Regions from separate parts of the Homo sapiens genome. Here region 1 is linked to region 2. The links are contacts of gene promoters, found by promoter capture Hi-C in blood cells and fetal thymus (Javierre and others, 2016). All regions are on one chromosome and are shown on one strand. Each heading gives the region's core, a stretch centred on a gene start or on the middle of the fragment in contact. The rest is flanking DNA. Distances are from core to core; before and after follow the strand shown. Region 1 holds the start of SPINT4 (serine peptidase inhibitor, Kunitz type 4). Region 2 holds the start of SEMG1 (semenogelin 1).

Evidence for each region. Contacts are between HindIII fragments. The CHiCAGO score rates a contact against its expected background, and 5 or more counts as called.
Region 1: a contact is called between the fragment with the promoter of SPINT4 here and the fragment with the promoter of SEMG1 in region 2, in 6 of 17 cell types (M1 macrophages, endothelial precursors, M2 macrophages and 3 more). The highest score is 7.3, in M1 macrophages.

Annotation. Positions count from the first base shown.
Region 1 is chr20:45,719,649-45,724,965 of GRCh38, forward strand. It overlaps SPINT4 (serine peptidase inhibitor, Kunitz type 4), which reads left to right and starts at 2,699. Exons shown (of 3, transcript NM_178455.3): 1 at 2,699-2,834; 2 at 4,232-4,409. The coding sequence starts at 2,720. The HindIII fragment of the contact is 5,556 bases long and covers 1-4,360 here.
Region 2 is chr20:45,205,667-45,210,311 of GRCh38, forward strand. SEMG1 (semenogelin 1) reads left to right here and starts at 1,367. Exons shown (of 3, transcript NM_003007.5): 1 at 1,367-1,463; 2 at 1,708-3,064; 3 at 3,935-4,102. The coding sequence starts at 1,388. The coding sequence ends at 3,020. The HindIII fragment of the contact is 3,637 bases long and covers 1-1,594 here.

The DNA.
Region 1 (5,317 bases), core at 1,449-3,948, 520 kb after region 2:
CATACAAGAATTAACTCAAGATGGATTAAAGACTTAAATGTAAAACCCAAAACTACAAAACCCCTAGAAGAAAATCTAGGCAATACCATTCAGGACGTAGGCATGGGCAAAGATTTCATGATGAAAACACCAAAGCAATTGCAACAAAAGCAAAAATTGACAAATGGGATCTAATTAAACTAAAGAGCTTCTGCACAGCAAAAGAAACTATCATCAGAGTGAACAGACAACCTACAGAAATGGAGTATATTTTTGCAATCTATCCGTCTGACAAAGTTCTAGTATCCAGAGTCTACAAGAAACTTAAACAAATTTATAAGAAAAAAACAAACAATCCCATTAAAAAGTGGGCAAAGGACTTGAACAGGCACTTCTCAAAAGAAGACATATATGTGGCCAACAAACATATGAAACAAGGCTCAACATCGCTGATCATTAGAGAAACGAAAATCAAAACCACAATGAGATACCATCTCATACCAGTCAGAATGGTGATTATTAAAAAGTAAAAAAAAAAACAAAAAACACAGATGCTGGAGAGGTTGTAGAGAAAAAGGAACACTTTTACACTGTTAGTGGGCGTGTAAATTAGTTCAACTATTGTGGAAAACAGTGTGGAGATTCCTCAAAGATCTAGAGGCAGAAATACCATCTGACCCAATAATCCCATTACTGGGTATATACCCAAAGGAACATAAATCATTCTATTATAAAGACACATGCATGCATATGTTCATTGCAGCACTATTCACAATAGCAAAGACATGAATCAATCCAAATGCCCATCAATGATAGACTGGATAAAGAAAATGTGATACTGAAATATATATATATACACACACACACCATGGAATTCTATGCAGCCATAAAAAGAAATGAGATCATGTCCTTTGCAGGGATATGGATGGAGCTCGAAGCAGTTATCCTCAGCAAACTAACACAGGAGCAGAAAACCAAACACTGCATGTTCTCACTTACAAGTGGTAGCTGAATGATGAGAACACATGGACACATAAGTGGAACAACACACACTGGAGCATATCATGGGGGTGGTAGGGAGAGGGAGAACATCAAGAAGAATACCTGGTGAATGCTGGGCTTAATACCTAGGTGTAGGGATGATCTGTGCAGCAAATCACCATGGCACACATGGTTTATGTATGTAACAAACCTGCACATCCTGCACATGTACCGCTGAAATTAAAATAAAAGTTGAAGATTTTTTTAAAAGATAGCATTTACAATAATATTAAAAATATAAATAAGATTGTAACACCTGCATGAGAAATGTCATAAACCTTTCTTTAAAATATTAATGAAGGTCAAAATAGATGGAAATATATATATCAAAGACAATATTATAAGGATATCATTCTTTTCCAATTGATTTGTAGATCCAGTGCAATTCAAATGAATATCCAAAATAGGTGTTTTGTTTTTGTTTTTGTTTTTGTTTTCGTTTTCGGTCAGAGTCTTGCTCTGTCACCCAGGCTGGAGTGCAATGGCACAGTCTCAGCTCACTACAACCTCTGCCTCCCAGTTCAAGCAATTCTCATGCCGCAGCCTCCCAAGTAGCTGAGATTACAGGAACTCACCACCATAACCAGCTAATTTTTGTATTTTTAGTAGAGACGGGGTTTTGCCATGTTGACCAGGCTGGTCTCCAACTCCTGACCTCATGGGATTCACCCACCTCAGCCTCCCAAAGTGCTGGGATTACAGGCATGAGCCACCACGCCTGGCCCGAAACAGGTCTTTTGAATAACTTGATAAACTGACTAAAATTTATATGAAAATACAAAATCCTAAGATAAACAAAGTTCAAGAGATTAAGTGTGGCTTTGGAGTGGGGGTATACAGTGGAGTGAAATAAAGGGCTCAGAAGCAATCCCACATAATTAAGCAAAATTATTTTGCAGTTAAATAGAAGAGGAACTCATTAATAAATAGGTCTGGAACCACTGAAAAATGAAAAAGGATCCTTATGTTATACCTTACCAAAAAATCAACATCAGGTGGTTTTAGGGTGTAAAGGTAAGCCAAAACTTCAAAACTTTTAGGAGAAAACAGATCCAAGATGTCCTCATGTTCCTAGATAACATAGTGTAGTGTGACTAAGAACAAAAACTCTGAAGCCAAGTTCAAATCTTGTCTCTACCACATAATAAATGAGTGACCTTGTACATGTAACCTAATCTCTGTCTCCATTTCATCCTTAAATGATGGTAATAACTGTACTTACTTCATAGGGTGTATATGATGATAAAGTATATACAAATTACTTAAAAATAGCACCTGGAATTAAGTAGTACTCTAGGTTATAACTAACCCTGTTACTATTATTATAGTGCTATTGCACTCTTTCTCTTGTGCCATGATTAGTTTCTTCTGTGCATAAAAGGTCAAAAAGAGAAAGGAAGAAATCCCTTTTTAATTCCTCACTCTGATGATTCTACCCTTCATGATTAAATATATGCAGAAGCTCTGATCCTTAAGTTTCTATTGCTTCTAGATGAACATGGGACTCACTATCAAGGGTCTAATCAGTTTGGGGCCTTCAGCTTCATGGCTGGGTACCCAAGCACTCACTGTTCAACTCAACACCTAGTAATGTCCAGTCCTGGCCCTTGGGGTAGGTGAGCTCAACCGTCTCAAGTATCAAGCCCAAAATATAACATCAGGTGATACCACAACTATCCTGCCTGCTGCTTGCTGCACCATGAAGTCTGCCAAGCTGGGATTTCTTCTAAGATTCTTCATCTTCTGCTCATTGAATACCCTGTTATTGGGTGGTGTTAATAAAATTGCGGAGAAGATATGTGGAGACCTCAAAGGTATGAAGCTAAGGCAGAAAATAAATCCAAAGGTCAATTATGAATGAGAGAGAAGGTATTGGGAGAAAAGTGTGTTATCTAGGTAGTCCAGGAAGGTCTTCCTTTCATGACAATACCCATAGACACTTAGTCCCTTGACTCAGGGCATTACTTACACTAGGGGTCCTCTGGATGTTTGATGAGAAAAAACAGAAATGACACAAAGTCCTTTCCAGATGGAGACCTCTTTTATAGGAGGTCCAAAGGACTGGAAGTATTTTGAATCAGAGGTTGTGTGACAAATTTCAAAGATCCCAGACCATTGATGATTATGTATTGGGATGAGAGAGAAAGGGGGTTGGAGACAGAGCAAATTAAGACATTTTCAGTATCTGGGCTATGGACATATACAGAACTCTTGGACAGATGATTCCTGTTTAGAGGAGCTCACAATGTAAATGTGAGAGGCAATGAGACTTTCTTCCATAGATAGTGTGTGAAGGCTCAGCGCTTCCAGGGGACGAGAAAGTAGCACAGTTTATACCGTAAGTCAGACACTTCAAGTTCTGGACCTGTTCACTTAGCAGATATGTGCCCTTGGACAAGTCACTCAACCACTTATTATTCTCTTAGTCTCAGTTTCCCCATGTGTAAAATGAAGATCAGAAAAGTGCCTGCTGCAGAGGGTGTTTGTGAGTATGAAATAAGATTATGCACATAACTTTACCAGAGAGTAAATTCCAGGCTGGCTGCTTGAGTAAGGTGGATTGTCAATACAACCATGATTGTGGCTGTTCCAACCACTTACTACCCAACTCTTAACAATAAAAACAGAGGGTTTGCCTCTGAGAAGGCAAGAAAGGAGAAGATGACGGGGTATGAGGATGAACGAGCATCACCCCAAGGTTATGCATTTTAGCATTTTAGTATGCATCCTGCTTTAAAGATAGCAGCAGCCATGGTTACTTAAATTTTGAAGTATAGGTAGTATAGTGAATGTATGAAACTGGGGAGGAGGCACTCTGAATTGCATGTCCTATGTGGGCAATTAAAAGGAAAGGAAGATGATGTGGGGAAGCAGGAGGATACTGTACTTTAATAAACTGTAAGATAGGAAATGTAGGGAAGCTCATCGCCCTGCACAAGCTAGTGGTGGAACCTCCTTTTTCACTGATCACTACTTCTCCTTCTCCAATACACTGCTCACGACAACAACCTGGAATTTTAACCAATTTGCATTGTGCAAGGGCAACATTTCCAAGCAACTCTAACTCCAAGAGAAAACCACATCTTTCAGAGTCCTTGAATATGAGAATAGTTCCAGGCTAAACGTAGGAATTTTTAAGGGCCCATAAAGACAAGTTCTCCTGCTGAGTCCTTACCAATTCCCACTAACTCAATGGGAACCTCTCATGCAGATCCCTGCAAATTGGACATGAATTTTGGAAGCTGCTATGAAGTTCACTTTAGATATTTCTACAACAGAACCTCCAAAAGATGTGAAACTTTTGTCTTCTCCGGCTGTAATGGCAACCTTAACAACTTCAAGCTTAAAATAGAACGTGAAGTAGCCTGTGTTGCAAAATACAAACCACCGTAAGGAATCTAATCCTGTCCTTGGTCCTTGGGGGTAGTAAAAGAAGAGGTTTTGACATCCTAAGATAGAGAAAATTGATCAGGGGCTAACCTTGCTTGGAGTGGGAAGAGGGAGGATTGCTCAAATAAGAAGTTTTAACAGTTGGGTTGGCCGGGCGCAGTGGCTCATGCCTGTAACCCCAGCACTTTGGGAGGCTGAGGTGGGTGTATCACCTGAGGTCAGGAGTTCAAGACCAGCCTGACCAACATGGAGAAACCCCATCTTTACTAAAAATACAAAATTAGCCAGGCATAGTGTCGCATGCCTGTAATCCCAGCTACTCGGGAGGCTGAGGCAGGAGAATCACTTGAACCCGGGAGGGTTCAAGAAGTTCAGAGGGTTCAGAGGTTGCGGCGAGCCGAGATCGCGCCATCCATTGCACTCCAGCCTGGGCAATAAGAGCAAAACTCCATCTAAAAAAAAAAAAAAAAAAAAACCACATTTGGGTGGGCTGTCAGGATCATTTGCTCATTTTGCAGTTAGGAAATCAAATGCCCAGAGAGAAAATAATAGCCACCATCTATTGGACAATTACTGTGTGTCAGGCACTGCACTAAGCAATTAACATATATTGATATAATTTAAAATTATATCAAGGTAGGGCCAGGCGTGGTGGCTCACGCCTGTAATCCCAGTACTTTGAGAGGCCGAGGTGGGCGGATCACAAGGTCAGGAGATCGAGACCATCCTGGCTAACACAGTGAAACCCCGTCTCTACCAAATATACAAAAAATTTGCCAGGCGTGGTGGCAGGCGCCTGTAGTCCCAGCTACTCGGGAGGCTGAGGCAGGAGAATGGTGTGAACCCGGGAGGCGGAGCTTGCAGTGAGCCAAGATCATGCCACTGCACTCCAGCCTGGGAGACAAAG
Region 2 (4,645 bases), core at 117-2,616:
ATAAATTTGGTAAGATCTCAGAGTGGCTCATAGAGAAACCATGCAGCTCACATGATTTATGTTTGATAGCATAGCACTTTTTTTCTGTGGTTGGCCTTTCTCTTTTCCCCTTCCATAGAGCATTGCCTACAGGAAGGTTAAGATTCTAAGACAGAATAATTGAAAATAAGTTTTCAAGCTATCCTTTCCCCAGCACTACCCTCCAAGGTGTTCTGAATGTACACAGGGACACTGTTGGGATGCTTTCTTCTTCTCCTGTGGTCTGCTCATAACGAAGTCTTTATGACTCAAAGTAAAGAAAGTTTCTTCAGACTTTTCAGGATGTCATCACAATTGGAAAAATCTATGCTTCTACCAAAGGTGGGAATTTTAGCTTCATGTCCACTCACAATACATTATTCAATTCATTGATGGTGGCAAATATTTCTCACAGCCTGTTTGGGGATTCAGCTGTTTACTACTGAAGTAGAAACTTCTCTTAATTAAAAAGAAAATTCTGCTGTTTAGGTAGATTTCATGAAAAGAACCCAATCTAGAAACCAGCATTTTTACTTTTTTTCCAACAGTTGTTCCTATCACCATGAAAGCATATTAAAATTCTTTCATCCTTTGAAAACACATCTGGAACTTACCTCACCCTCCAGATACAGCCTCAGCTCTCACTCCACCATGAATTCAGACTTCCTGAGAAGGTTGCAGCTGGTCTCCATCCTTCAACTGACAACCCAATGCAATTGTATTCATCTCTCATTAAAGTTACTAGCAACAACTAAGAAAAACTTTGGATACATGTCAGTCTTTATTGTGTTGAACTTGACAGACATATTTGACATTGGAGTGCCCCATTTACTTGTTTAAAATTTCTTTCTTTGGATTCCATAACGTTTCATTATCTTCTATATCATTGGACTTCTATGATTGCTCATTCTTAGGTAAAATAGAACGTGTCTCAAGATCATTTTTAAAACAAAAGGAAGTATGGAGTTCTATCTAAAATAGAGTATTTAAATTATTGCATCATGAAGGGAAACTCACATTTAGAATATAAAGGCATTCTCAGAAACCAATTGCTTTTGTAGCCTGAAGCCAGTCTCTTTCCTACTTTTGTCTATAATTCTGTAAAATTAAAGTGATCTGGCATGATGATCTAAAAGGACTGATAAAAATTTGCTGGGGCTGCCAGAAGAAAGAAAATGCCTTTGACATTATGTTGCTGGGGACATTGACTTTGTCCCACACTCAGCAGGGGTGAGGAAGTTGGCATTTACTGATAAGCTAAGAAAAGTCAGTGCCTTTTGTAATTTAAGCTCCACCCATGGCACACTCACTCAAGGAAGATATAAATGACAAGGTCGGCTCAGCTCTCAGACAAGGTTTTCCAAGCAAGATGAAGCCCAACATCATCTTTGTACTTTCCCTGCTCCTCATCTTGGAGAAGCAAGCAGCTGTGATGGGACAAAAAGGTGAGTGGAGAGGGTAAGCCTTGGGGAAAGCTGCTCAGACAGCTAATAATCTAAGATTATTTGGGGTGCAAACAGTAACCTGTTTAGGCACAGATTCTTCTCTTTGAAGAGAATTGATTTTCTCCACCCAAAGCTTCAGCTTTTCTAGAAATATCAATAATTTGTTGGGGGAAAAGTGGGGGGTAAGAGTTGTAAGGGAGCTTTGGAGATAATGAATGCATACCTTCTTATTATCAATTACCAGGTGGATCAAAAGGCCGATTACCAAGTGAATTTTCCCAATTTCCACACGGACAAAAGGGCCAGCACTATTCTGGACAAAAAGGCAAGCAACAAACTGAATCCAAAGGCAGTTTTTCTATTCAATACACATATCATGTAGATGCCAATGATCATGACCAGTCCCGAAAAAGTCAGCAATATGATTTGAATGCCCTACATAAGACGACAAAATCACAACGACATCTAGGTGGAAGTCAACAACTGCTCCATAATAAACAAGAAGGCAGAGACCATGATAAATCAAAAGGTCATTTTCACAGGGTAGTTATACACCATAAAGGAGGCAAAGCTCATCGTGGGACACAAAATCCTTCTCAAGATCAGGGGAATAGCCCATCTGGAAAGGGAATATCCAGTCAATATTCAAACACAGAAGAAAGGCTGTGGGTTCATGGACTAAGTAAAGAACAAACTTCCGTCTCTGGTGCACAAAAAGGTAGAAAACAAGGCGGATCCCAAAGCAGTTATGTTCTCCAAACTGAAGAGCTAGTAGCTAACAAACAACAACGTGAGACTAAAAATTCTCATCAAAATAAAGGGCATTACCAAAATGTGGTTGAAGTGAGAGAGGAACATTCAAGTAAAGTACAAACCTCACTCTGTCCTGCGCACCAAGACAAACTCCAACATGGATCCAAAGACATTTTTTCTACCCAAGATGAGCTCCTAGTATATAACAAGAATCAACACCAGACAAAAAATCTCAATCAAGATCAACAGCATGGCCGAAAGGCAAATAAAATATCATACCAATCTTCAAGTACAGAAGAAAGACGACTCCACTATGGAGAAAATGGTGTGCAGAAAGATGTATCCCAAAGCAGTATTTATAGCCAAACTGAAGAGAAAGCACAGGGCAAGTCTCAAAAACAGATAACAATTCCCAGTCAAGAGCAAGAGCATAGCCAAAAGGCAAATAAAATATCATACCAATCTTCAAGTACGGAAGAAAGACGACTCCACTATGGAGAAAATGGTGTGCAGAAAGATGTATCCCAACGCAGTATTTATAGCCAAACTGAAAAGCTAGTAGCAGGCAAGTCTCAAATCCAGGCACCAAATCCTAAGCAAGAGCCATGGCATGGTGAAAATGCAAAAGGAGAGTCTGGCCAATCTACAAATAGAGAACAAGACCTACTCAGTCATGAACAAAAAGGCAGACACCAACATGGATCTCATGGGGGATTGGATATTGTAATTATAGAGCAGGAAGATGACAGTGATCGTCATTTGGCACAACATCTTAACAACGACCGAAACCCATTATTTACATAAACCTACCATTCGGTAACCATGTGAAAGGATGGACCAATATCAAGGTAATTTTTTTTTAGCAAATAGGGGAGATATCTCTCTCATTGTTTAGAATTGTTGGGGACTCTCCAGGACTTTTGTGGGATTGATAACCATTGTTCGCACCAATAGAAGTGCTGTATAACAAGTGGTAGGAAGATGAGCCTCCCCATTCCCTGGTGAGGAGAGGGTCTGGTAGTGGCACAGAAGGATGTTTGGCCTATCATGAGGTCCTAGAATTCCTATCCTTAATTGAATATTCTTCAATAATATTTTTTTGTATATGCCTACCTGCTAAAGGTTTTTTTGAACAGGTACTGACTACATATGCATATTTATAAGTTTATGGTATACTCTTGTCAGTTCTTATACTTTAGATTAGTAAACCTCAGTTTCTTTCCTATATAGTATAAAGGATTACAGCCATTAATGTTTTCTTTCTGCACACCAGTGAATGTTCTTGCATCCCTGTTAGGGTTCATCTATGCTCCTTCAGAGACCACAAGCCCAAAGACTATCAGTCCTCCCTCTCAGAATACAGGAAAGAGATATGTAGAAAGATCCTTGTTCATGTTGTGAAAGAGAAGATGGAAAGGGAGACACAAGAGATGGTGAGGGATCTCATGGGCCAATTGGGTGTTTACAACATCAGGAGAAGAAAACTGAAGCCCTGAGAGGGGTAATGGTGCTTCCCTGCCTCTTTGCAGTAAGTAACACTGCACTTGAAGAGAGGGCAAGCAGTAGAAACAGTGGCCCCAGCTGGCAACTAGTGGCCTGGTATCCTAGTAGTAGAGGGCTGGTACAGTTGGAGCTGAAGGGGACAGGGGGCCCAGCTACCATCCCCACCCTTCACTTTTTACTATACTCACATCACTGATTCTCTTCTTTCTCTCTAGGTGTCAGTTGACCTCAGTGAATTCTGTGATGTTTCTGAGATGCAGACTCCCGTGTAGTTTCAGATTCTTGGTCCATGGATGACACCACCTGCCCATGCTTCCTTGAATTAGGCTTTCCTAACCTGAAGCGCCTTCAAACTTCCAATAAAGAGATCATTTTCTGCTTCATCTGCTTTTGACTCCTGTTTTCTCTGGATTCCTAGTGGCTCAAGGGGTTGAGGGCATTTCTAATGTAAGTGGTTTTGAAAGAAAATAAAGGGATATTTTTGAAGCACTAGGGAGAATAGTAATCAAAGCCACATTTCAAGATATATTGATAGAAACCAACACTAAAAATAGGGTGCTGTTAGTCTACCAGTCACATGTCTACCACCTGAGGCCAACACTAAAGGCTTTCATGACCCTGGTACTAATAAGACCCCAGGAACTAAAAATATCCCAGAAAGACAAGAGAAAATGTATTGCAACAGGCCCTGGGAAAGTCCCTGATCTGCTGGTGATCAATTCCACAGTAGCACATCCCTTCAATTAGCTTAAGAATGTCTTACGCCTACAGTATCCATTGAGATGCAATTACACCAAAGGTGATATGTTAAATCTGCACAACTTCAGTAACAGCAAGTGGGTTAAAATGTCACCTGTGGATGGAAAGACCAGATGACCAGTCAAAGGAATCTTGAGGCAGGTGGTGTCTTCATAATGGAAATACTG